7 separate regions of the Homo sapiens genome follow, and regions 1, 2, 3, 4, 6 and 7 are each linked to region 5. Evidence: promoter capture Hi-C in 16 types of primary human blood cells and fetal thymus (Javierre and others, 2016). All regions are on one chromosome and are shown on one strand. Each heading gives the region's core, a stretch centred on a gene start or on the middle of the fragment in contact. The rest is flanking DNA. Distances are from core to core; before and after follow the strand shown. Region 1 has its middle 36 kb from the start of MIR548E. Region 2 overlaps SHOC2 (SHOC2 leucine rich repeat scaffold protein). Region 3 overlaps SHOC2 (SHOC2 leucine rich repeat scaffold protein). Region 4 overlaps SHOC2 (SHOC2 leucine rich repeat scaffold protein). Region 5 holds the start of SMNDC1 (survival motor neuron domain containing 1). Region 6 overlaps PDCD4 (programmed cell death 4). Region 7 overlaps SHOC2 (SHOC2 leucine rich repeat scaffold protein).

What was found. The method cuts DNA at HindIII sites, captures the fragments that hold promoters and counts their contacts. A CHiCAGO score of 5 or more calls a contact.
Region 1: a fragment that was not itself captured here is called in contact with the fragment with the promoter of SMNDC1 in region 5 in 1 of 17 cell types (M0 macrophages); the score reaches 5.2 in M0 macrophages.
Region 2: a fragment that was not itself captured here is called in contact with the fragment with the promoter of SMNDC1 in region 5 in 12 of 17 cell types (fetal thymus, monocytes, neutrophils and 9 more); the score reaches 11.8 in fetal thymus.
Region 3: a fragment that was not itself captured here is called in contact with the fragment with the promoter of SMNDC1 in region 5 in 6 of 17 cell types (total CD4 T cells, M2 macrophages, activated CD4 T cells and 3 more); the score reaches 8.0 in total CD4 T cells.
Region 4: a fragment that was not itself captured here is called in contact with the fragment with the promoter of SMNDC1 in region 5 in 1 of 17 cell types (total B cells); the score reaches 5.1 in total B cells.
Region 6: a fragment that was not itself captured here is called in contact with the fragment with the promoter of SMNDC1 in region 5 in 17 of 17 cell types (fetal thymus, M0 macrophages, M2 macrophages and 14 more); the score reaches 20.7 in fetal thymus.
Region 7: a fragment that was not itself captured here is called in contact with the fragment with the promoter of SMNDC1 in region 5 in 10 of 17 cell types (activated CD4 T cells, total CD8 T cells, total CD4 T cells and 7 more); the score reaches 9.4 in activated CD4 T cells.

Annotation. Positions count from the first base shown.
Region 1 is chr10:111,023,340-111,027,102 of GRCh38, reverse strand. No RefSeq gene overlaps it. Among named protein-coding and RNA genes, the nearest start is that of MIR548E, 36 kb to the right of the region's middle. The HindIII fragment of the contact is 2,850 bases long and covers 219-3,068 here.
Region 2 is chr10:110,923,200-110,927,219 of GRCh38, reverse strand. The region is part of intron 1 of SHOC2 (SHOC2 leucine rich repeat scaffold protein); the gene reads right to left. Among named protein-coding and RNA genes, the nearest start is that of SHOC2, 5.6 kb to the right of the region's middle. The HindIII fragment of the contact is 2,261 bases long and covers 419-2,679 here.
Region 3 is chr10:111,006,697-111,010,676 of GRCh38, reverse strand. SHOC2 (SHOC2 leucine rich repeat scaffold protein) reads right to left here. Exons shown (of 9, transcript NM_007373.4): 6 at 3,024-3,146; 7 at 1,292-1,429; 8 at 847-964. Among named protein-coding and RNA genes, the nearest start is that of MIR548E, 20 kb to the right of the region's middle. The HindIII fragment of the contact is 807 bases long and covers 1,399-2,205 here.
Region 4 is chr10:110,942,917-110,946,928 of GRCh38, reverse strand. All of the region lies in intron 1 of SHOC2 (SHOC2 leucine rich repeat scaffold protein), which reads right to left. Among named protein-coding and RNA genes, the nearest start is that of SHOC2, 25 kb to the right of the region's middle. The HindIII fragment of the contact is 343 bases long and covers 1,623-1,965 here.
Region 5 is chr10:110,303,573-110,307,231 of GRCh38, reverse strand. It overlaps SMNDC1 (survival motor neuron domain containing 1), which reads left to right and starts at 2,312. Exons shown (of 6, transcript NM_005871.4): 1 at 2,312-2,484; 2 at 3,645-3,659. The coding sequence starts at 3,645. RefSeq lists a silencer at 2,481-2,800. The HindIII fragment of the contact is 6,895 bases long and covers 1-3,659 here.
Region 6 is chr10:110,875,188-110,879,189 of GRCh38, reverse strand. It overlaps PDCD4 (programmed cell death 4), which reads right to left. Exons shown (of 12, transcript NM_014456.5): 2 at 3,120-3,224. The coding sequence starts at 3,162. Among named protein-coding and RNA genes, the nearest start is that of PDCD4, 5.3 kb to the right of the region's middle. The HindIII fragment of the contact is 1,757 bases long and covers 398-2,154 here.
Region 7 is chr10:110,991,444-110,995,180 of GRCh38, reverse strand. All of the region lies in intron 3 of SHOC2 (SHOC2 leucine rich repeat scaffold protein), which reads right to left. Among named protein-coding and RNA genes, the nearest start is that of MIR548E, 4.4 kb to the right of the region's middle. The HindIII fragment of the contact is 826 bases long and covers 1,949-2,774 here.

The DNA of each region.
Region 1 (3,763 bases), core at 394-2,893, 720 kb before region 5:
TATCCATTTGCAGAATGAAATAGACTTATCTCTCTCACTGTATACAAAAATCAACTCAACATGGATTAAAGACGTAAATATATGACCTGCAGCTACTAGAAGAAAACATTGGGAAAACACTTCAGGCCATTGATCTGGGCAAAGATTTCATAAGGCCTCAAAAGCACAGGCAACCAAAGCAAAAACTGACAAATGGGATTACCTCAAGCTAAAAAGCTTCTGCACAGCCATGGAAACAATCGACAAAGTGAAGAGATAACCTAGAGAATGAGAGAAAATATTTGCAAACTATTAATCCAACAGAGGATTAATAACCGGGATATATAAGGAACTCAAACAACTCAATAGCAAATACTAATACTCCAATTTAAAAATGGGCAAAAGATCTTAATAGACATTTCTCAAAAGAAGACATACAAATGGCCAACAGATATGTGAAAAAATGAGGTAAAATAACTTGCCTCAGGTCACAGATCTAGTAGTGGCAGAGCTACATTTATTCACTTCATTCAGGATAAAAGCTAAAATCCTTAGCGTGACACACAAAGCCTCATGATCTGCTTTTCTCTTCCCCATCTCTCTGACTTTATCTCTACTCTTTACCAACTTGCTTTTCCTCACTCCAGCCACACAGGCCTCATTTTTCCTTAAAAATCAGCTGTTTTACCCAAAATGCCCTTCCCTCAGATATAGCTAAACTTCATCTAAGACTCAAATGACACTTTCTTAGCCAGACTTACCCAGACCACCCTATCTGAAATAGCAACATCATTTTTTTTCAAATAAACGTTTTAAGAGCAATTTTACGTTCACAGCAAAATTGAGCAAAGTACAGAGAGTTCCCATATATATCTCTCCACACACACCCACAGCCTCCCCAGCCAATGTCCCTGTGTGGTACATTTGTTACAGTTACTAAAGATTGATACATATTATGACCCAAAGTCCATAGTTTACATAGCGTTCACTCTTGGTGGTGTACATTCTACAGGTTTTGCCAAACGTGTAATGACATTATCTCCCATAATATCATACCGAATTCTTTCACCACCTAAAAATCCTCTGTGCTCTACATACTCGTTCCTCCCTTCCTCCAAACTCTCGTCAACCACTGATCTTTTTATTGTCACTAAAGATATGCCTTTCCCAGAATATAATTTAGTTAGAATCATACAGTATAAAGTCTTTTCAGATTGGCTTCTTCACTTAGCAATAAGGATTTCGGTTCTCCAGGTCTTTTTATGGCTTGATAACTTATTTATTTAGGGATTTCCCAGACACCTCAAGCTCTCTATGTGATACTGAGAGGCAGCCAGAGTGCATCAAAATGGTAAAGGGATACAAGGGGTCTGGTTGTGATACCTACAGTATTTGCCACTCCTCCTCCTATAGAATAGAGTAATATCCCATTGTATGAATGTGCCACAGTTTATCCATTCACTTATTGAAAGACATCTTCATTGCTTGCAAGTTAGGCAATTATGAGTAAAGCTGCTGTATGCATTTAATTGCAGGGTTCTGTGCAGATGTTTTAATTCATTTGGGTAAATACTAAAAAGCATGATCATATGGTAAGAGTATGTTTAGTTTTGTAAGATATTGCCAAATTGTCTTCCAAAGTGACTGTACCATTTTACATTTTCACCAGAAGTAAATTGTATTTCCAGTTATTCCACATTCTTGCCAGCATTGGTGCTGTTGGTGTTTTGGATTTTAGCTATTCTAATGGTTGTGCAGTGATATCTCATTGTTTTAATTTGCAATTCCCTAACTAATAGAGGATGCTGACCATCTTTTAATGAGCCTACTTACTATCTGTATATCTTCTTGGCGAGGTGTCTGTTTAGATCTTTTGCTCATTTTTTAATTGGGTTGTTCCATTTCTTATGCTGAGTTTTAAGAGCTGTTTGTCTATTTTGGGTGAGTCCTTTATCAGGTATGTCTTTAGCAAATATTTTCTCCCAGTCTGTTGTTCTCATTCTCTCGATAGTGTCTTCTGAAGAACACAAAAATTTAATTTTAATAAAATCCAATGATGTCTTTCACAAATCGTGGTTTGGTGTTGTATCTAAAAAGTCACTGCTAGACCTAAAGGCATCTAGACTTTCTCCTAGGTTTCCTTCTAGGAGTTTTATAGTTTTCCATGTTACATTTAGGTATGGCCAATTTTGAGTTACTTTCTGTGAAAAGTTTAAGGCCTAGATTTGCTTATATTTGCATATGGATCCCCACTTGTTCCAGCACTGTACGTTGAAAAGAACTATACTTACTCCACTGAATTGCCTTTGCTTCCTTGTCAAAAATGTTGACAATATTTGTGTGGGTCTCTTTTTGGGGACTCTATAGTGTTACTTTGATCTATTTGTAATACCAGTCTTAATTACAGTAGCTTTATAGTAAGTCTTGAAGTTGGGTGGTGTCAGACCTCTTGACTCTTTTCTTCTCTTTAAATATTTCACTGGCTATTCTGAATCTTTTGCCTCTCCATATAGATTTCAGAATCAGTTTGTCAATATCCACAAAACAACTTTCTGGGATTTTAATTGAGATTGTGTTGAATTTATAGATCAAGTTGTGAAGAACGGATTTCTTGACAATATCAAGTCTTCCAATTCATGAACATGGAATCTCTCTTCATTTATTCTTATTTCTATCATTAGAGATCTGTATTTTTCCTCATGTGTGTTTTATATTTTGTTTCATTGATAACAAAGTATTTCATTTTGGGAGAGAGGTACTAATGTAAATGGTATTATGTTTTTAATTTCAAATTCCAATTATTCTTTGTTCTGTATCGGAAAGCAATTTACTTTTGTATATAAACCTTGTATTATGCAACCTTGCTATAATCACTTGCTATCATCAGTTGTTTTTGCCATTTTCTTTGGATTTTCCATAGACAATCATGTCATCTGCAAACAAAGAGTTTTATTCCTTCCTTCCCAGTCTGTATGACTTTTACTTCCTTTCCTTGTCTTATTACATTAGCTATCACTTCCAGTAAGATAATGAAAAGAAACTGTGAGGGAGAACATCCTTCCCTTGTTCTTGGTCTTCGTAGGAAAGCTTCAAGTTTTTTTTACCAGTAAATATAATGTTAGCTGTGGGTTTCAGGTAGATGTTCTTTATCAAGTTAAGTAAGTTCTACTCTGTTCCTAGTTTGCTCAAGAGTTGTAACGAAGGAGTGCTAGATTTCGTCAAATGCTTTTTCTGCATCTATTGATATATGATTTTTCTTCTTAGCCTGTTAAGGTGATGGATTACATTAACTGATTGTCTGGTGTTTAAACAGCCTTGCAGGTTGACATTAATCTTGTGAATTCTTAGTCGTTACTCCTCAAATACTTGCTTCTTTCCCTTTATTCTTCTGGTCTTCTCATTAAATGTATATTACATCTTTTGTAGTTGTCCCACAGTTTTTGGATATTTGGTTCCAGTTAGTTTTTTCTCCTCTTTGCTTTTTATTTGGGAAGTTTCTACCGACATATTATCTTCAAGCTTCCTTCCTCAGCTGTGCCCAGTGTACTAGCCAATCATTCTTTATTGTTAGTGTTATTTCCAGCATTTGTAATTCTTTTGTAGAATCTCTCTCTGCTAATATTACCCACCTATTCCTACATGCTGTCTACTTTTTCCATTAGAGCCCTTAGCATATTAATCCTACTTATTTAAAATTCCTGGTCTGATAATTCCAGCATCTGTCATATCTGAGTCTGCTTCTGATGGTTGCTCTGTGTCTTCAAATGGTGCTTTTATCTTTTTA
Region 2 (4,020 bases), core at 300-2,799, 620 kb before region 5:
TTCAGGTCACCCAATCTGTCAGACACCACATACTTTTAGCAAAGAACTATGACTTTCAACCTAATTTTCCCAGTCCGGTTAACCAGGCAATGCCAAGGAATTAAGCTTATTTTCTTTAACAGAATAAAAGTTGAAGAAATACTTAGTTATTTTGTCTTATCAATGCAACAGGTTGTTTTCATTAAAAGTGGGTCAAGAAAAAAATGTTGCTACTCAATTTTACATATTTCATAGCAAAGTAAACAAAGAAACACATAGTAATTATAGTATCTACCTCTACAAATTACAAGGTAGTATATTATACTGCACTGATCAGTATTTTCAGATAATTATTTGTTTCAACTTAAATTTTGTTCAATAAATACTGTTACCTACTATATTTTACCTCATTAAGCAAACCTTCCCAGTAAGAAAAGCTTAACACAGTAAAAGTTTTAAATTGTATCATTTTGAATGGAATTTTTCCAAAATACATGAGGTTATTAACAAAATTTACTAATATCCAATAACCTCTTCTTCATGATCCTAGATCATTATTTTCTATACTATTCTATGTATAAAACAAAGTGTCTTGAAAGATTCTACGCATGTTTGTCATAACATTAAGTTGCTATAAACTGCTGTTTTTACAAAATGTCTTGCATCTGGCTTTTCGAGTTTTTCTTCTGCTCTTATTTTCAACTCTCTTATCCCTCTAGGAGTAATTTCAGTCCTTTTTACATTTGGTTACCAAACTTTTAAAAATTGTGCACTACGTGAGAATAAAAATGCCTGAATTAAGGCTTGAAGGACTCTAAAAACAGAAAATGTGTGTTTAAAAACAAGAACATTATGACATGTCTTTGTCCTTCCTTTGGGCCTGTTCAGTTTGTTTTGGAGCTGTAGACTATTCATCTAAAACTAATTTTCCACTTGGAACCTACAAAGTCTAGACATTGTATACTGGTGGAACAGTAAATAAGACAGACATACTCAATGCTCATCTTAAGGCTTACAGTCTAGCAATAAAGACAGACATCAAATATATCATTACAAAAATAGTGTTATAAAAAAGGAAGTAAAAGCACTAGGATACCTTCAAACAGAAGAACCTAACTAGGGATGAAAGGAAGGTCTCCCAAAGTCTGGGATACAAAATTGAGGCCTGAAGGGTGATTAGAGTTTAGCTACATGAAGAGTGCATGAGGTAGTAACCAAGCCGATGACACCAGATAGTTTTAGTTTCCTATAAGTAATCTCAAGATAAATGAGGTGTAACAACATGTTTAAGGCAATTGCTAAAATATTAATATTTTTAAATTTCTCAGATTTCTATAATAAAAATAATTAGGAGCATCAAGAAATGCAAATGAGTGTTTTAACACAGAAAACTATGGCACTCTGCAGGGAATGGAGTTTGGGATATCAAAATTAGGCCTCACATGATACGCCCTGGAAGAAATATTAAATTATATTGCATGAAAGGTCCGGCGTGGTGGTTCACACTTGTAATTCCAGCACTTTGGGAGGCCAAGGCAGGTGGATTGTTTGAGCTCAGGAGTTTGAGACCAGCCTGGGCAACACGGCAAAAGCTAGTCTCTACAAAAAATAGAAAAATTAGCCAGGCATGGTGGTACACACCTGTAGTCCAGTTACACGAGAGGTTAAAGTGGGAGGATCACTTGAGCCCAGGGAGGTCAGGGCTGCAATGAGCCCCATGATTGTGCCACTGCACTCTAGTCTGGGTGACAGAGCGAGACCCTGTCTTGAAAACAAAAACAAAACCAAAACAAAAACAAAAAAAAGCGTGAAAAAGAGACCCTGTCTTAAAAACAAAAAAACCCAAAAAATACTGCGTGAAAAATTAGTCAATTCTCAAGTTCAGAGAACTTTTAAATCATACAAGACAATTACAAAGCCTGCTTCTAGGGTATAACTGTTGACCATACAGTCTGACTTACCTAAAGAGTGGCACTGTCAAGTAAGTATGGAAAGTGTTTTTTAAAGTGTACTCAAAAAAGAGTACATTTTAAATGATTATACAAAAAAAAAACTTTACCATGAATTCTAAGAAAGTTCATAAATGTTACTCTTAACATGATACATAAATGCTGAGAAAAGACATTTAAGTATTGCTTTTTATTTTAATTTTTTTTTTTTTTTTTTTTTTGAGACAGAGTCTCACTCTGTCGCCTAGGCTGGAGTGCAGTAGCATGTTCTCGGCTTACCGCAACCTCCACCTCCCGGGTTCAAGAGATTCTCCTGCCTCAGCCTCCCGAGTAGCTGGGATTAAAGGTGCCTGCCACCACGCCCAGCTAATTTTTTGTATTTTTAGTAGAGACGGGGTTTCGCTACATTGGCCAGGCTGGTCTCAAACTCCTGACCTCAAGCGATCTGCCCGCCTCAGCTTCTCAAAGTGCAGGGATTATAGGCGTGAGCCACCACGCCCGGCCTTAAGTATGATTTTGAAACATTATCCAAGTTCTAAGCCTGGGAATTATTCCCCACGTTACACTGATATATTCTCCTTGTATTTAATTAAAATAGTAATGAAAAATAGGTGAAAATTTTTCCCTTTTCACAGGTGTTGAAGGTGAAGTTTTAAATAATAGTTTGGTCAACATTAATACAGATCTGCAGTTCAAAGCCCAAATAAAATTAGGAACACAAGAAATATTATTATTAATAATAATACAAGCTTTAATCGAAGTCTACCATATGACCTAATATTATTACTAGAATCCAAACTGTTATTCTTCTCTAACTGCCCAAGTGGACCTAAACATATCTAACCTTTGTGCTTTTATTACCCTCCCCTATCCTACTTATTCCTCAAGAGTTCATTCCAGTCCTGTCCTCCAGTAGGCATTGCCAGTTATACGTGCAGTGTGAGTCTTAACTCATCTGAGTTTGCCAGTGTATATACTGCTGTTAAAAGCATGTGTCACATTGTTTAACAATTAACTATTGACTTGTCCGGTTCATGCAACAAACTCTGAACTTACTGAAAGAAGGAAACATATTTATCTCTGTATCCACAGAGCCTGGGACACACATGGCATTCAGCAGAAGTTCCATGACATTGGTGAATGTGAAACTGTAGTTACTAAGAAATATTTATAGAACAAAATTGAAAAGTTAAAGACTATTTGCAAGACTGAGAAAGTACTGAAAGCAGGAAGAAGTGTTATACAACACAAAACTGGAAACTGAAAAAAACCCAAATGTAACTGATCAAATTAACTCCAAGTTCTAGAAATTATGTGTCAAAACAGGCCATTTCCACTTTACCTCCAAGACATTAGAAAAACTAAAAGAAAAAAATATTTATCTTTGTCAGCTGTAAAATTACTTAAAATTATAGGACTTTTAAATAGTAATTGAGGGCAAATAAAGTATTTAAACGTTAGAAGTCTTCCTAGTGCTATCAACAAAAGATAGTCATGCACAAATAATTTATAAAAATATGTCAGGTTCATTTCACATAGGGACCAATTATACCCCTTTTTAAGGTCTCCTGTAATGTTTTAGCTACAAGCAGTATGTTCACTCTTTCTCATAAATGAATCCTTACATTTTAGAGCATGTACTACTTTTTGCAATCAGTTCTGACCTTTAGAGAAGTTGGAATGAGATATACAGTGTGAAAATGAATTAGTGTTCTTTTAAATCTTGATAATGGGAACTGCATGCTTTCTCAAGAAGCACATACACTACCATTATCTCAAAAGCTTAAGGATCATTGGTAATTAAAATATCCTTTTGCGTGTATAAACTCTGCTTTGCTGAATTAAAGATGCTGTGTTAAAAAGTTGAGACCCGGGGGAAAATACCAAACAAAACCAGAATGAACATTAATTTATATTAAAATAATTCAATTATATATTTTAGAACATAAAAGTTTCTCAGACTTATGTTTCAATCTGTAATGATTAACAAACACTTTTAAGAACACTCTATAATATATGAAGTTCAAGCATACCATAGGTCATCTGTAATTCAGAAATTATTCAGATTTTAAAAGTCAGTTTACACAGTCGG
Region 3 (3,980 bases), core at 553-3,052, 700 kb before region 5:
ACTTTAAGTTCTAGGGTACATGTACACAACGTGCAGGTTTGTTACATATGTATACATGTGCCATGGTGGTGTGCTGCACCCGTTAACTAGTCATTTACATTAGGTATATCTCCTAATGCTATCCTTCCCCCCTCCCGCTACCCCACGACAGGCCCCGGTGTGTGATGTTCCCCACCCTGTATCCAAGTGTTCTCATTGTTCAATTCCCACCTATGAGGAGAACATGCGGTGTTTACTAACCTATAGTTCCTGTGGGACAGTGCACTATAGATGGGAAAACATTAATGCATAGAATTACTAATTTAAAAGCTAACATTTAATTACCTTAATCAAGTAATTCTCTTTATAAAGCAAGATTACAACTTGCACTGTCTAAAATTCCAGGTGGTCATGTATATTACATAAAATAATGGAAATGAAAACACCTGGAAAATGTTAAGTATTCCCAAATGTTAATATTGGTTAAATATTAATATTAATTCTAAAATCTCATAAATGTTCTTTTGGCATAAAACATTACTAATTCAAGCCTGTGTAATTTTAAATTTAGAAGGAATATAAAATAACTTCTAAAATGAGGTTATACATAAAACCTATTGGAAATGTAAGTATTCCAAAACATTCTCAAATACAGTACTAATTTTAAAACCAATCCTAACAGCCTTTAGGAAACCTAACCAAAACCAATCAACAATCAACCATCGGTGCTCTATTAAAAAAAAAAATCTTAAGCCTGATATAACCTCAGTTTAAAAAACAATAGATTTGTCATATTTATCTGAAATATTGCTTGAATGCACAAGAGCAAATTATTAGTACAGAGTCAAGCATTCACAGGGTTCATACCAATTTCTTCAGGAAGGTGAGTAAGTAGGTTCTCTCCAAGGCCCAGATGTGTGAGATTAGTAAGGTGACCAATGCCTCTGGGAAGAGTGGTCAACTGGTTGTTTGTCAAGACTAATTTCTAAAAGATTTACAAAATAAAAGAGAGTTACAAATATATTTCCTACATTTAATGTAAACTGAAAATAATATGTCTAAACAATAAAATAAATTAACAGGGAAACCAGATTGGATAGAATGAGAATCACTTACATTACATATTTTTCTTTCACAAAATACCATTTGTTAGGAAAACAAAGCCAGGTTATATGAACATAAAACTCAGCCCTAATACTAGAATAGGAAAGTCTATCTGATCCAAGAATTACATCAAAATCTTAAGAGAAATGTGGAATTTGGAACAGATTCCAAAAACTTTATAAAACTACAAAATCAGCATAATGTTTACCTGTAAATCCTTAAGATATGCAATTTCATTTGGCAAGGATTCCAATTTGTTCTCTTCTAGATCCAACTCTCTTAACTTCCTAAGGTTTCCAAGACCATGGGGAAGCTTCTTTAGAAGATTGTTTGATAAGATAAGAACCTAATGAGAAATTATTGATAATGTTTAGGAAATCATGAAATGAAATTATATACTGTCATTGTGTGGCTTAAAATCTATTAAGCAATGCTAATTTTCCAAACAGTGAATATTAAGGGTGATGTTCAATTATATAACATATAAAATATTTAACTTACTTTTCTAAAAAAACACCATAGTTATTAGAAAAGAGATTTTATTTGATTATATCAAAACTAATGAAAACAAAAGAAGCAATTTAATTTTAATGAAATTTCAAAAAAATGCTCAATAGTTACAAATGTTTATCTAATAGGAAACTATTTATTCAAAATCCCTTACAAACCATTACTTAAGGAAGGTAAAAGCTACCTTCTAAACTTGCTATATCAATCCACTCTATTTATTATCTGTGGTGTTCTTATTACACTGAAAGCATCCTGGAAGATACTGAAGGGGGTTAAAATGGCAGAGAAGATAGCCTTTGTTCCGATAAAGTTACAAACTAGCAGAAAGGTAAGGAGACAATACTGGGTTGGGAGAAAGAGCAATAGGTAAAACAGATACGTAAGGTTCTGGGTAAGTTTTTATGTTCATTTATTTTCCCTAATGTTACACCACCCATAATAAATATATACAGTAAGATGGAGAAAATAATTACAGCAGTCACCACTTGATTTTACTATTTGCAAGGCACTGTACTGAATGCATTATGTGCATTATTGCATTTAATCCTAACTACAACTCTACAAGGTAGATACTCTTATTATCCCCATTTCACAGCTTAAGAAACTGAAGCTTGGGCAAGTTAAGTACATAAATATACAGAGATAATTACACTCAGCTTTGTTTGACTTCAAAGCCCATGTTTTTAGCCATTAAACCATACTATTTCACCTTATTAAATAATTTAAAAATTAGACCTTTAAAAAACATGGATATGAAGGAAATTTTAAAAAGCAATATATTTACTATTAGTAAGCATTTTCATCAAAGGGATGAAAACTCTAGGAACTCAGAAGCAGGAGAAATCATCCTTAACTGAAGAGGTGAAAATAAGATGGATCTTTAATTATGGAAAAACATACTAAAAGAAAAAAACTAAGGGGATGAGAAGAGGGCATTCTAGATACAGAAAACAATAGGACTAAAATTAGAGGGCTAGAAATAGGCATACCAGATTTACAACAAAGACAATAATCAATGAGTAAATAAAATAGCAGGTCGGTAATTAGGATGAAAAAGTATGATAAAGCATTCTAAATGACAGTCTGAGAATCGATAATTATTTTGGTAGACAATGGTGTAGTTTTTAAACAGAATAAAGAAAAAAATTGTTCTAAAAGATGCTTTTACAGAACTTTTCTTTTAGAGATATTAATACTTTATGGCACTCAAAGACACCAACTTGTAGTAGGCAAGAGAAATTCAAAAGCACTGAATCTAGACTACCTAAGTCAACACTTCATTATCCTATTAGGGTTGTATGTTTAAGTGAGTTCTAACATTTCTAATTATGACATTCACCCAAATAGAAATTGCTTATTTAAATTTGAAATTTTTAAATGAGATACGTATGGAAGGTTCTGAAGTTCTCTAATTGCTCATTTATACTAACCTCAAGAGAAACGAGACCAGACACATCCTCAGGGATCTTTGTGAGCTGATTAGTGGCTAAATTCAATTCTACCATACTGGTCCAAGTTCCAAAATCCAAGGGAAGTGATGTTAACTGATTGTCCTGGCAAAGACAAAAAGAAGCATCCAAGGTAGAATCACAAAAACAAAGTTCTATATATACCTGTCACTTCGGAAAGAGAATTCTTAATTAAACAAAATCTTATTCCCCTTTTTGATATTTAAATATAGAAAGAAAAAAAATCAGCAACAGAAAACTCTAAGCCTCCAAAGTTTTTTATACAGTAATGAGGCTTTTATTTGGGAGTTAAACTGGAAGTTTGTTCCTTATGTGATTATAATGGAAATAGAAAAACACAGTATACAGAGAAACACTGGAGATTTCAAAGATCCTATGATAAATATGATGTTTTTACAATTTCACAATATGCAGAAATCACTGAATAAAATATAAATGCTCAAATAAAGATATGAAAACAATAGAAGAAGACGCATCTAATGACAGCCCATAAGGAAACCAGAATGAGCTCAGGAATTCTTAAGGTGCTGAGCAGTAAAGTAGGGGAGGAAAAACAGTCTTAAAAAGACAGCAAATTAAATCATTAAAACACTAATCAGGTATTTACCATTTCACTTTAAAAATCCATAAGAAAAAAATGGTAAAATATATTCATCACCAAAACAGAGGAAACAGTAAATATGGTCTTAATTTGGTTTAAAAATTAGACAATGCTGTCCACAGAAAAAAAGTATGCCACTTTTATTCACTTATAAAGTATACTTTCATCAATAACAACTCGTACCACAATGTTATGTGTTAGGGGTATTGGTATTGGGAGAGGATAATCAACACCCCATCCAGCTCAATACCAACAATGTATGTCAGTATGTTAACAGTGATGCTACCTCTCAGTGGCAGTATTATTTTATATCCTTT
Region 4 (4,012 bases), core at 545-3,044, 640 kb before region 5:
TGAAAACTACTATTCTGACATTTTACTAACATCACTCTTCCTATTTAACTTTTAAATATGATGAAGTCACTCCCTTGCTTAAAAAATCTGATGCCATCCCATCTTTCAAAATAAAAGGCAAGCCCTTACCTCCAACCTCCAAGACTCCACATGATCTAGCCCCTACACTTGTCTAGCTTTTCTCCAACTCTCCCCGCTAGGTACTTGCATTCCATTCATATTAATCTTGCTTTTCTTTGAATGCAGATCTACATGCTCACACATGAAGTCTTTGTTCTAGCTATTCCATCTGCATAGATACAGCCCTTTCTCTCAAATATCCACATTGTTTGTTCCCTGCTCAAATATCTCATTCTTGATCTACATATAAAAGAGAAATGTCTTCCTATTCTTTTTACCCTGCTTTATTTTTCTTCACAACATTTACTACCTCATAAAATATATTTACTTATTTATTTTGTCTATCATCTCCCTCTCCTCTATGAATGTGAAAACTGTGAAAGCAGGGGCTTCTGACTATTTGGTTTGCAGCTGTATATTCAGAGCCTAGAACCTGGCCAATACTAGATGCCCAAGAAATGGTTACTACATGAATAAAACAACAAATTAATGTATCTAGACATAATTTTTTAGAATAAATTTCTTCTTTAAGAAATATAAATGATCAGCTTCAAAATATGTTATCTCAGTAAAACTAAAATGAAAAATAAAGAAGGCATGGTATAGAATTGTCATTCCCATACCCATCAGAAGTTACCACTACAATAATAAGATATCAAGGATTTCACTGAGTGATATCATGATTATACTATTCAAACTGAAGGGATTTTTATTTGATTAAAAAAATCCTACTCAGGGCCTGAGTAGGATGAAAAGGACAATCCCACAAAGATGCAGTTCTGTGTAGGGTATCAGTTAGAACAGGAAGAGATGAACACTGACATATGATGGTAACCCACAAGATGTTTAAGAGGCCAATTGGGATAGGGTGGGTATGCTCATAGGAAGATAGCTCAACACAGAGAATCAGAACCTGATTGGGGGTGAGAAGAACATCCACAGGTAGTGATGAACCAGGGTGTGATACTGGAGTCTATGAGAGTGAGGAAGATTTCTACATAATAGGCTTGATTGATGGTTAAGGAGGAGGCTGCGCAACATGAACAGTTAAGATTTCAAGCAAGGTGAAAAGGTATTCACACACAGGGTAAGCCTAGCATGGAGAGTCAGAGTCTGAGTGGGGTTGGGGTGGAGATAGGGAGAGTCAAACATGGAGGTCTGTCAGTGTGGGATGGCAAAGCCCAAGTGGAGGCGACATCACAGAAAACAGCAGAGTAAGCATCTCTAAAAACTGTCTCTTCCACAAAAGCACAAAGAAAACTGGAAAATAGAATCAACTTTATCAGAACTCTAAAAATTAATAAAAAGCTTGCATCCAAGTTGCATTTATTTTTAAAAAGCTCAATCTCATTAAGAATGATGAGCTTTCTATTTTAACTTGCCCTAGTCCCATCCCTTGCTCTCCAGATCCACAGTAGTCTTGAAGAAACGACAGCTCACATTCCCAGTGCACTCTAGAAGCTACGTTAAAAAGCAGCAAGAGTTGTAGCTCATTCAAAGCTTCATTCTCCCCAAATTATTGCTTGAGCAGTCTTGTTTCCAGGAAGACCCTATTTGCAATGCTGACCGTATGTGACCTGACTCAGAGCTTGCACAATGCAAAACGCCTTTTCCCCAGGGAGATATTCATTGAAAAAAATTACAGGAAAGTGTTTTATACCATATCTACTTGAGGCAGTGAATAACAGTTGGAGCAACAGACTTAAATCTTAAAAGGAAAAGCTGAGAATGAAATACCCGTAACAGACTTTGAAAAGCTCTGACATATTACTGGGAATCTAGAAGGTCATACACATGCCTAAGGCTGTGTACATGCTCAAGGAAGACCTGAAAAGGGCCTAAGCTTTGAAGCTCTGCACAAGCAGGACATAAGGACAAGGCAGAGTTGCCAACTACCCAGCTGAGTGTTGAAGGCATGCCCCAAGACACACACACACAAAATCCTCTGGCAAAGACTAGGAGATTTACTGGTTCCAGGCATGTAAAGAAATCTTTGTCCAGTCATTAGCAACAACTAAGCTAACCAACTAGAGACTGAATTATCTACTGAGGTAGTCACACACATCAAATAGAGTTTGCAGAATTAATTCACAAAAGAAATTAAATGAAGAAACAACTACAAGTACTCCAACAAACCCTGAAGAGAGGGCAAAATGTGATTTTCATAGTTGTCAAATTATTTTATTATAAGTCTCCACTATTTGGACATTTTTATATTATTTAGAATGTCCACATTATTTCAAAGATCATTTATTATTTAAAATGTCCAAATGTAATTTTCAACAAAAAATTATAAGATATGCAAAGAAACAAGAAAATATGAACCATACACAGGAAGAAAAGCAAATAACAGAAACTGTCCCTGAGGAAATCCAGATATTGGACTTATTAAACACTTCTAAGTCAGCTTTTTTTTTTTTTTTTGGCTCAAAGATACATACTTTTCATTTGTGATCTGGATTATCTTCATTTTCCACTGTGGGCAGAAGGAGCACACATAAAGGTAGAATCCATAAATTTTCACTGGATAATGGTAAAATGGTAAGAGGGCCTGGATAAGTACCAACTTCAAAATAAAAAGCAGAAAACAGTATCACAACAGAATATCCTAAGAATGGAGATAACAATATACTATGGAACAAGGAGCTTATGAACTTTGTAACATGTCACATTTCAGATTTCATAATAAATTTTCCAAGGTATGTTTTTGTCATTCTCAGTTTTTCTGTAATAACAAAAAAGCAGGGAGATAATAGGCAGGTCTTCCTTTGAGACGAGCAAGAAAGAGGAGACTGGTGAGATCAAATCCAATCCACAGCCACTTGGGGCAAAGTTGGGGCAAAAGACGATCTGAAATGATAATATGTGGAAGAAGTGTGCTAAAAGAGTTGGTTGAAAGATTCTGGGTTGCCAAGAAGAAAAGGAGAATGCAGACTGTTAAAACTGATCCATAGAAGGCCAATGTGACTTTCCGTGACCAGAATGCTTAATTCCATTCCTACTGCCTCAAGATTAACTTCCTTGTTTAGATATAAGAAAATAGGTTCTCAATTTGACAAACACAAGTTACTCACTTAATATTTAACATGGTGAGACTACTTTTTGTTCTCTAGTGAGTTAGCAAGGTTTCAGTGTTCCAGCAGGACAACTCAGCCATTTATTATTGATCACGCCCTGGAGTTGAAGACACAGGCTCACAGAAGGTCATGATAGCCCATGTTCACTTAGGTAAAAGTTGTAAATGAAAATTTAATATCAAATCTCCTGTAAGTTAGCTATTTTTAAAATGTTCAATGAACTAAAGGAAAACATGCCTGTAGAACTAAAGGAAGGTATAAGGACAATGTCTCACCAAATAGGGAATATCAATACAGAGATATAAGTTGTTTTTAAAAGAACCAAATAACCTGGAGTTGAAAGTGCAATCATGGAAATGCAAACCTCACTAGAAGGGTTCAACAGCAGATATGAGCAGGAAGAAGAAAGAATCAGCAAAGTTGAAGATAGGTCAATTTATATTATCCAGTATGAGGAACAGAAAAAAAAAAAAAGAATAAAGAAAAAGAAACGGAGCCTCAGAGACCTGTGGAATATCATGAAGTGAACTAACATACTCATAATGGGAGTCCCAGAAGGAAAGAAGGAAAAGAAATAATGGTTGAAAACATCTCAATTCTGAAGAAAAGCATCAATCTATACATCTAAGAAGCTTAACAAACTCCGAGGAAGATAAATTCAAAGAGAATCCACATGAAGGCAGATGATTATCAAACTGCTGACAGACAGAAAGAATTCTTCATCTTAGAAAACTGAGGATGAAAAAACTCAAAACAAAGGCAACAAGAGATGTGACTCATCATGTACAAGAGATACTAAGTATTAACATTTAATT
Region 5 (3,659 bases), core at 1,063-3,562:
TGTGACAGGATCTCACTATGTTGCCCGAGCTGGAATGCAGCGGCTATTCACAGGCACAGTCAGTGTGTGCTGCAGCCTCAAACTTCTGGATGCCCTTCTCAGCCTTCCAAGTAGCTGGGTGCCATCATGCCATACTTTAATTTTCTTTAGTAGAAAGGAAATAGCTGTATATTCTGATGACAATTTGGAGCCTTTACATTTTATTTATTTACTGTCTTTCAATAAAATAAATATCACGTTTCAAAACTAAAGGTTTAAGATACTTTTTTTTAAATAAACATGATTAAGTTTGAATGCAAATGTTTTAAGAAAAATCAGACACTGAAAGTAAATTTTGACACTTCAAAGGAAATAGTAATTCAGAAAGCCTATTTGAAGTATTGCTCTTAGTTTTGTCTGCTCCAGTTTTGTCTGGAGCAACACCGCATACAATTGTGAAAATTAAATGAACCTGTGTAAAGTGCTTAGAATGGTATCTGGCACATACAAACTGTTATTTCTTTGTGAAAATTAAAATTCAATATAGCTTTTCTTTATAAATGAATGTTGCATAGATAAAAACAATCCTAAAAACAATCCTGAAAAAATTATTAAGATGGTATAGAAATCTATGATGGAACTTATAATGAATATTTGCCTATTTTCTGATCTATGGGGTTCAGGAAAAGTTCTCATTTAAGAGATTTTTACACAATAAGGTTGACTTTATATTCAAGGAAGTTCCTCCTCGCATCGGTTCTTAAAACACACAATTACAATAACAGAAGTTCTCTAAAACTACATTTTATTTTAAACGAATATTTATTTAAAAGCACATGCTTTCTGTTTTGTCTGCCTTCTTAATTCTAGCTACACACTGCTGCCCTCTGCTGCAATTTCAATCTTTCACACTCACAAACCCGACCTAGTTTCCATCTATACAGGTTATCTGACTCACTGCAAGGGTTATGTGTGTGTGTGTAGAGAACAAAAGGGAAGGCTCCTTGAAAAGAAAACTAGGAACTAAAGATGTTGGCACAGTTCAAAAGAGCCCATCTGAGAAGTGGGCCTTTTTTTTTTTTTTTGAGACGGAGTTTCACTCTTGCTGCCCAGGCTGGAGTGCAATGGCACGATCTCGGCTCACCGCAACCGCCGCCTCCAGGTTCAAGCGATTCTCCTGCCTCAGCCACCCGAGCAGCTGGGATTACAGGAATGCACCAACATGCTCGGCTTTTTGTTGTTGTTGTTGTTGTTGGTTTTTTTTTTTTGTATTTTTAGTAGAGACGGGGTTTCTCCACGTGGTCGAGCTGGTCTCGAACTCCTGACCTCAGGTGATCCGCGAGAAGTGGGCCTTTTTATGGATCCAGCAACAAACTCCCAACCTCCCAGGAAAGGTTGCTTCCTGTCATCTATATAAAACTTTGTGTCTCAGGCCTTTATTGCTTTTTTAATTGAAATAAATTATATATATATGGTTTAAAAAAAAAAGAAAAGGAAAAAGGGTAAACAGCAAAGAGGGTAATCAATAAAACATTTGGCTTCCACTCCAAACCTCTGAACAGTTTTGTGTATCCGTCCAGAAAGCGTATATATTATTACAAACATACACAAGGGGCATTTCTTTTTGAACACAAATGTGAGTATTCCTACCACTCTTTACCATTCTAGACTAACTTGGACGTTGTTCCCTATCAGGCGAGATTAACCCAACTAAATTAAAACCAAGTAGGTTTTAACAAAACAGATTTTAAAGAAATCAATCTTCTCTCCAATAGGTTATTTCTGTCACGATTTAATTAGCTTTCTGTTACTACTAAGGCTTGTATCATATAAAGTAGTGGTTCTCAGGCTGGGCGCGGTGGCTCACGCCTGTAATCCTAGCATTTTGGGATGCCGATGCAGGAGGATAGCTTGAGCCCAGGAGCTGGAGACCAGCCAGGGCAACGTAAAGAGAGCCCCCACCAACACCCCCCGCCACCCACCACCACCGCCCCGGAAAAGCAGTGGTTCTCAAACGTCAGCGGACATTGGTATCATCTGGTGAGCTTATTAAAACAAGAGTCTCTGGATTCAGGAGGTCTGGGGTGGGGCTTGAGAATTTGCATTTCCAATAAATTCCAAGCCGGAACTCCAGGAAGATAACCTGCATTCCGCGCCTGGCGAAGCCCAGCTACGCCATTTCCTTCCTAGGCCCCGCCTACTTCGTGTCCCTGACAGCCAGGGACTGGCTAGAGGGCGCGCGGAGTCACGTGAGTCGAGCGACCTCGCGCGAGAGTTTGTATTTCTCGCGAGACTTCACCGTCTCTGTCTTTTCCTCCTTCCAGTGCCCGGCGTTCCTCCCTTCCCCCTCGCCGCCGACCGAGTTCTTCCTTTTCAGACCGGGTCGCCTTGCTGTCGTCGCGGTGATTTTCCTGCTACTGCTACTGCTGCTGCTGCCACCGCCACTACCACTGGGCTCATTTGCCCCGACCCCTTCCCGCCGCCCCGCCCCCAGCCCCACACAAGGTAACAACCCCCCTGAGGGAGAGAGTAAGGCCTGGCCGGGCCCGGGTCCCTCCCGAGGTGAAGCGGAGGCCCAAGGCTGAGGAGCCCGCCTCGCCGGAGACGCCCAGGCGCTGGCCCTGGATCCCGGAGCCACGGCCGTCTCTCAGCCAGAGCTGAGCCTCGGCGGCCCGGCCGGCGCTGGCCTCCGTGCGGCGGCGGCAAACACGGCCCGCAGGGGACCGGGTCGGGTGGGGCTGGGCGCCGCGCGGCTCCCTGTGGAGCCTGCCTGTTGGAGCGCGGCGGGGCTCCGGCGGTGGTCTTGGAGCTGGCGTGTGGATTTCCACGTCCGAATGATCGAGTTGTGGCGGGCTTTGAGGTGCTGCGTGGCGGGGAGGAGAGCAGCCTGGGTCGCTGTAACTCTTAGGGGGCCTTTGCAGGCTCCCAGCCTTTGGTTGGACGGGAATTTTACGAAGGAGAAGGGTCCTCGGAAACGTGGTACATTTGCTTATAAACCATCAAAAAAGGTTAATTGGTATCTTATTTTCAGGAAAATGACTGAGCTGGATTTGGCGAAAGGCACATTCGTTAGAATGCCTAAATGGGAGAGTACCTGTGCTGTTCTTTTTGCTGAAGATAATGCACCGATAAATATTTAAGCGACTGGGCGAAAGATTTTTGTTTTGGAGAGGCACTTTTAAATACACTCTTAATTGAATAGTTCAAGTAAAGATCGTAGTTTGTGTAGTTAATTTAAAAACGCACTTGTTTGGCTTTGGAAGCATACTGTAGTGCTTAAAAATAAGTATTTGGATTGTTTTTGAAAGTTTCGACTTTTCCAACAGAGTAGTGCTTTTTAAAAAGATAACACTGATTATTGAGCCGAATTCAGCACCTACCCTGTGGATAGGAGTTAAAAGAAAATTAGAAATTTCTTTGTATCTGTATGCTTTTTTAAAGTATGGAATGTATCTCAAGTTTATAATCCTCAGAATCTGTTGCCTTTAAGTTTGTGGTTTAGCTGAAGTCTAAACTGAGAGTAAAGGTAATGGTGGTAAATTAAGCTGCAGTGTTAGAAGGAGTTAGAGGCAAAAACTGGTAATTCAGGCAGACAGGGGAGTTAGTTTTTTATGCCTTGATTTTTGGTTTAGTTTTCATGGTCTAACCCTTTTTATTTTCCCTAGATGTCAGAGGATTTA
Region 6 (4,002 bases), core at 27-2,526, 570 kb before region 5:
AAACCGCTAAGAAAATGCTTCAGTAATTCAGTCACAAGCTAACTGGTAAAGAGCAAGGGTAGTAACTGTGGGATAAATAATAATGTTACACTTTTAAAGAAAATAATGAAGGACTTTTAAGCAGAATGTATCTAGGATTAAAGAGAAGTCAAACAATGCCTTAAAAGTTTTCAAACTGGTAAGAAGCCGGTGTTAGGATGGTGTGTTTGGGACATCATCATAACCATCAGTAGTAATTATAGTCTTAGTGGAAGTAGTCGTAGTACTGTTTCTTTCATCATTACCATTACTATTGTCATCTATTAGATACCAGGTTCCACACTACCTGGTACCTATTAGATTCCACACTACCTGGTACCTATTAGCTAAGGCACTTTACATATGTGGTCTATAAGCTTCAAGAGCTCTAGAAAGAAACTGTTTATCCTCATTTTACAGAAGGAATGTGTTTCACAAGAAGTTACATATCTAGAAAGGATTATGGCTAGAATTCAAACCCACATTTTTAATCCCATATAACTACAGAAAATACAAAACTAGAATACAGCAGAGTATTGACAGCTAAAGAGACGAACAAGGGCGTGAATGTAAAGAGAGATAAACAAAAATGATTAAGTGGAAGGGGACAGAAAGATCAGGATCACATAAATTAGATGACATTTTCGTGTAAGAGTGGATGGTTGAGAAAAACATTAAACATCTACCTGTAACATAGTGCTTTCATCATTGTGCCATTAAGGTGAACCACAAAACTGGTCCAGAAGACACAGGAGTCAGAACTATAATAAAATGTCTTAAACTGTCCCTTGGAGTATTCAATTTAAATACATCTATTTCCCATAATCGAGTTTTCTTTTCTTCAACAATTTTAACATCCTTTCAAGTATGTTTGTGTCTCTGCAGCAGTAAACATTCTCTCAGTATAATTTATATATTTGACCTTATCATTTTTAACCCATGTTTGTATTAATTGCTTTATATTTTGTTACTCATACTCACCTAACTGTTGGAGTTCCATAACCCCTATTGAGCTGACTTTAAGAAAACCAAAATTAAAATGATAAGCTGAGTACAGAATGTGATTGACTTCAAAATTGTTTCCTACTGTGTACTAATTCCCTCTTTCTGAATTCTGATATCTCAATAGTAACCACTCCAATTGTATATGACCACAGCACCAGAAAATCACATTTTCAATTACTGGTGTCCAATGAGTGGCATAATTAGAATAACATTACCACACTTTCATGTATTACATACCTAGTATGTGCTTCACAGACTTAACACACATATACAATATCTCACTAAATCCTAATTATAAATCTATACAGAGGGTATTTATATCCCAATTTTATACATGAAAAAACTGAAGGTCAGAATAACCTACTTCCTCCAAGTAAAAGAGTAAGAGTGTGACTTGGACTATTTGCTATGTGAAGAATTTACTACAAAGAGGGTCTATCTTAGGCCTATTCAAATATTGAAGAACAAGTCTTTTATTTTAAAGCAGTGCTGGACACAAGCACCAAGAACAGGGTTAGAACTAGGTCTTATTGTAGTTAGGAAACAAAAAGTACACATTTTAAAGCTGTGTTTCTATTTCTAATAGAAATAGAATGCAAGCCATATAAGAAATTTTAAATTTTCCAGTAGCCACATTAAAAAGTAAAAACAGGTGAAATTAATTTAAATATATTTTATTTAATCTAATATAACCATATCATCTCAACATGCAAGCAATATAACAAATTATTGAGATAGTTGACCTTCATCTCAACTCAGAGTAGCCACATTTCAAGTACTCAACAAACACATGTGGCTAAGCACAGTGGTGCACACGCCTGTAATCCAGCTACTGAGGAGGCTGAAGAGGGAGGATCACTTGAGCCCAGGAGTAATAACCACATGTAGCTAGTGGTCACCATACTGGACAGTGCAGAAAAGAAGCAATTACCTATATGTAAAATATATTCTAAACTGTATTACCATCCCCATCTCAATTAAGTAGGTACATATTATCCATTTATAACCCTAAAGCATACTCATACAGCTATTGTATACAGCAGCACAGAAATGATCATTAATTACATAAATTTTTTTCAATTTTTTACCATACTTTAAAAAGATCTGTAAATAAACAATGGTAAAGAAGCTTCAAATTCAACATGTTTGTTCAGATCAAAGAAAACTATGTACATTGTAAACAATAGTGAGTTAAGTCACTGAGGAAAGAAAGATGTAGTATTTAGTTACGAAATACACTTAAAATGACAGAAAATAGCTTTCAATATTAATAAAATTATAAGACAAAGAATTATCCAAAGTATACCAATATGAACTGTTCTCACTATTCAGATATTACACAATTCTAATTAACTTTTTGGGAGATTATTTTTAAAACTATAAATACATTTTAAATTATCTTGAGTTACTCACATTTGGTCATCTATTCCACAAAACTGTTCATTTTTATGATAATAACATGCTATTGAAGCACCATGGAGAATTAGGGAAAATACCCTAGGTAATTTAGAATATAAAAATTATTTGTTAGGAAAGATACCAAAGATACCAGTAAGTTTATATTACAGAAATCACTAACTAGCCCATGTGAAAATAAGCAGGCTCACTATTCTTCTCTATTCTGTACTATATAACAGAGAATAGGAATATGTGGAATGTGAAAGGATAGGCAGAAAAATAGGACATGTAATGAATTTCCATGAAAATAAAAATCACAAACTTGACTTTAAAAATAATATAGCCTGTTTTCTTACAGCATGAATAAAAGAGTATTTAAAGATAGTTTTTCTATCATGTTTTTATAAAATATGGAATGGTCTGAAGCTTCCTCACAACATAGTCAAGCTTCAAGATATTTCAGCCTAGGCAACATAGTGAAATCCTATCTCTACAAAAAATAAAAAATTAGCCTGGTGTGGTGGCACACACCTGTTGTCCCAGCTGCTGAGGAGGCTGAGATAGGGGAGGATCTCTTAAGCCCAGGAAAGTCAAAACTGCAGTGAGCCATGATCACACCACTGCACTCCAGCCTGGGTGACAGAGCAAGATCCTGTCTCAAAACGAAGAAAAAAAGAAAAAAGGATATCCTTACTTACCTGCAGGGTTTACATTCAGTATCTGCTCATTTTCTACATCCATTTTCCCTTAATTTCGCTTGCACTGATTAAACAAATTACCTAATGGAAATCTTCCTTCAGAATCTGTTTTTTTAAAAGAAAAAAAGAAAGCTTCAAGATCTTTTAAACTGATGTAATTAAGCTGAATTAAACTTACTTAAGCACACTGTAAAAACAAACGACAACAACAAAAAACACACAATTCCATTAAATAAAACAGTTCACTTTACTTTCAAAGACAACTTACCCTAATTAACATTTGGTTCCAATCTTTTTGATAAATTTATCAAAGTCAAAAAAAAAAATCCCAGATTTCAGCATGTGCCAAAGCACCCCTTTAATTGGAATTAAAAGATATGTTTGTGATACATGTTTACGTCAAGTTAAAGAAATACACACATCCAAATCTTTTAGGAATACCAAGCCTCAAAATTAATCTGATATACATACATAGGAATATAAATACTGGATAGTTCCCTACCAATGAATTATGAGAACTACTCCAAAATAAAAACAACACAGTTTTAGTTAATAAAGAATATCACATGACTGTGTTATTTTTCACATTACGGCATATCTGAAAGGCAGATATATCTGCCACTCATTACCTAGGTCTCTATAATTACTAGAATAAGACTTTGGGAGAAACTTTTAAAATCAGCTTTTTTGATAATATTATTTATATGAGAAATCCTTTTTTGATAATATTATTTATATGAGAAATCCATTTTTTAAAAATCTGATCATTTCAGAAAGGAGTAAGTACAACGACATAAGCATTTCAGTATTTTAGGCCTCAGTTTCAAAATGGCTTAAAAATTATTAATACTGGAAGGTTTGATGAAATCAGTTACCTTTTAGA
Region 7 (3,737 bases), core at 1,112-3,611, 690 kb before region 5:
GCATACAATAGGCATTAATTCATACTTTCTTAATAATTACAGAAACTAAAACATTTCATTATTTATCCTCCTTTCCATTAGGAACAAGATACAAAAAATTATATGAAAGGCCCATAAAAATCTATTTTCTTCAACCCATTCTTATTTTATAAAATAGCATGTCTATGAAACACAGACTTTATTGGACATAATTGAAAAATATATATGTTCATCTGGTCTATCTGAATACAAATTAATCATTCTACAAATATTTGCAGGAATTTTTCTGGGATACCCAACTTCTGAGCAGTCCATGCTTAGGTATCAGCCGGGAAGGAACTACTAACAATTCCAACTTTCTGCATTCCTCCCACCCCACCACATCACTTTTAGTTATAAAATATATAAATGTATCTTCCTATTTTCCTTAGATAACCATGGTTTATAGTCTGATACATACCTATTGAGACCTGTCTCTAAACACTTATTTATATGTATAAAAATACAGGGATTTCTTATGTTTATGTGTTTGCTTTCATATAAATGAGATCATTCTATATGCTTCTCCCCTCCCCCATATAACAGATGATAGAAATATTTTTATGCTGAGTAAACACAGATATACCTCATTCTATTTAACCATTGTAAAGTGTTTCATGTCATGTGTACCATTATCTCTCCAATCATTGCTCAACTGATGGCATTTAATTTTTTAAAAAAGAATTATGTAATGAATACCCCTAGACATGTATCTTTGTGCACATGTGAAAATATTTATGTGTCAGATGATATAGATATTTAAAATTTTAATAAATAACAAAAGGCTATATCATTTTTATTTCCACTAAGAGTGAAGAATAGCCCCCATTTACTCACATCCTTGTAAAATGGGGAGGGATGGTATCAACATTTTATCCCTTGCCTATTCCATTCCTATGGCCACTGCTACAGCAAGGCCAGCAGAAGTGAACATTTTCCTCCAAGTAGTGATCATGTCTGATTACAAAGAACTTCAAAACCTTCTGATAAAATTTTAATTTCCTGTATGCAGCTGCAGATAAAATGAGGCAGCTAACCTTTAAAAAAAAAAATGGAAGTAAACAAGACCATCCCTTTTTCTCCTTTACATCACTGCTTTCCCTATGGAAGAAAGTTGATCCATTGTAACAAAATGGCTGAATCTTTCACCAAGGGGTCTTTGAAGTCTGCCATAAGAGGGGAGAATTTATTAACAGAGAGAAGTCTCCATGATCTTACTCCATCAACTGACATGCCTCATTCAATAACCCTTTACAGTATCATGGTAGATAAATACAATATTTTAAATGTTTTTTATTCTCACTGAAAACTAAAAAACTTTCTGTGGTAACAAAGGTTAGTAGGGGAACCAAATTCTAAATGTTTGTCAACTCAAAAGCCTAGTAAATAGAACCAGATTCTTGAAATTTCTCATCCAAAACCAAATAACTCTTAAGTTTCTCACTTTTAAAACCAGAGTAGGTTCCTAGAATTTAAAAATTACAAAATAAAAATAATGTAGCCAAATTGCTACATGACATTATCTAGTACCAAAACCAGTAGTAATTTAAATTAAAAGGTACCTCCACCTTTCTTGGATCTAAATTTTTTGCTTTTTGCTGGGGCGGAAGGGGTTGAATTTCTAACAATGTAATCTATGAGAATAGGCTGTTCTGATGAAGAAATCTCACATTTGCAAAGGCCCTATCACTTGAGACCACTGGCAAATTCAAAGAGTCATCCACATTTTGCCAAAGTCCATTACTCTCAGCTAAATAAAAAAGGTTAAAAAAATTAAGGATGAAATATCAAAACTCTTTTACGCCAGAAGAAAACATCAGAAGTCTGGCATTTATTGTGATTCACCCTCTGCAGTGGTTTCAGCTCTAACCCCTCTCAATGAGTGGTTTTAACCACAAACTAAACTGCAACCTAGAAATCAACACAAGCTTGCTTTAATGTTGAGCCATCTTGACTAAGAAATAAAATCATTGTTGCTGAGCTCCTGTATATAAACGTAGGCTGATCACTGCCAATCACTGGCATTTAGCTTTCAAGTGCTTAACTTTGTCTACAAATTGTTCTGTGCTCCACTTTGACAGCTTGCTTTCTCTTACGCTGTCAGATTTTTAAAATATGGTGAAATCAAATGGCTATGAATTAAAATTAGATTCTTTCAATTTCAGCAAATATAACCAGCAACTTTAGTTTAATTTAGTATAACTTTCGAGTAAGACTAATTTAAATGATCATAATCTTATTTTAACAAAGTAGCAAAAAAAATAGTAGGAAAGACTCAGGGTTGGAAGGATGAAATGTCAAAGGTACCATTATTTTTTCAGAAACATTAAACTGAAAGCAAACTGAAAAGTAAGCAACACAGAAATTCCTGAATGTTAAAAACCCAAAGAACACCACCATTAAAAAGAAAACTAGTAAAGTTGTTATACATACGCTGCACTGTAATTACCTAAAACCCAATTACTAAAATGACTAAAATGCTACTTGTTGATATAACCATAATTAATGTAACATTTCTTCAGAGCCCAGTGCAACAAAAAGGCTTCTGTGAATTGTTCTGCACTCCAGCCTTGAAGGCAAGGTTTTGTGGCACAGTTCTCTCCTAATCTCATTTTGAGAAGAAATACAAAGTAAAGTATTTTTTCCTACTTCGGACTGTTTCTTCCCTGGATTACATAAAACTACCAGAGGTACCAGAAGGCTTTAAAAAACATCAGGTTCATACTTTAAAACAAAATAACTGTTGGAATAAAGCTTAATATTTTCTTCTGTTCATAGCTAATTTCTGAATGAGAAAATATTCATATAAAATAATACTTTTTTTATTCAACAAGGCAGACTAACAGTTAAATCAGAGAAACTATAAATATGTATTTAAGCACTCTCTTACTTAACTGCAACTTGGTAATCCCCAACCCATTTCCTTCTGTCTCTTCCTCACATCCTATGAGTTGTCAGCGATACTAGCTTCTCAGCCTGGAAGTAAATGGCAGTAATTATCACAGGGGAGTGATAGTTACTCCAGGAATGTTCATGTTAAATAAAGAAAAAAGTAAAAAACATTCTGGTCTACTTATAAGAAAAAAGAAAAAAAGGAAAAGGCAAGTAAATACAGTGATTTCTGGGAAGTGATTTTAAGACAATACAAGATTTGATTTTCAGTTACAAGTTTAGGGCAAGATTCTTTAGTCCAAGGAAAAGAGAGTGGGCAGCTGCTTCCAGACTAGCATCAACTCTGCAGAACAGGTGTTGGGCTTTCTGTTTGTTTTTCATTTTAAGTTATACTTTCTCAGAACTAGAGTAGGATTTAAAAAAGGAGAAGTATCAGGAGAACCATAATTCAATTAAGTTTCCACTACTTAGGGTAAATTCTTCATCTTCAATAAATGAGAGTGAAAATCTCAAAGGTCAATTAAAACTGTTGAAATTTTTAACAGACCAAGACCCAAACGTCAAAGTTTCCCACCAAACCTCAATCTTCTGCTACATCATCAAAATACTAGGACTGGAAAGGATGGAGAAAGATAAAGTAATTATTTTAATAAACATGGTAATCGATAAATGACTACAATATCATAAAAAGTTTCAATAAATATTACTAATTTACTTTGCCATTTACTCAGAGTAACAGCTGTACTATACTTGGTGACAACCATCAAAGCATATAAAAGTAAATGCAATGTTATTTAAAATTTTCTTGTTGTTAATGTTTCAGTTCT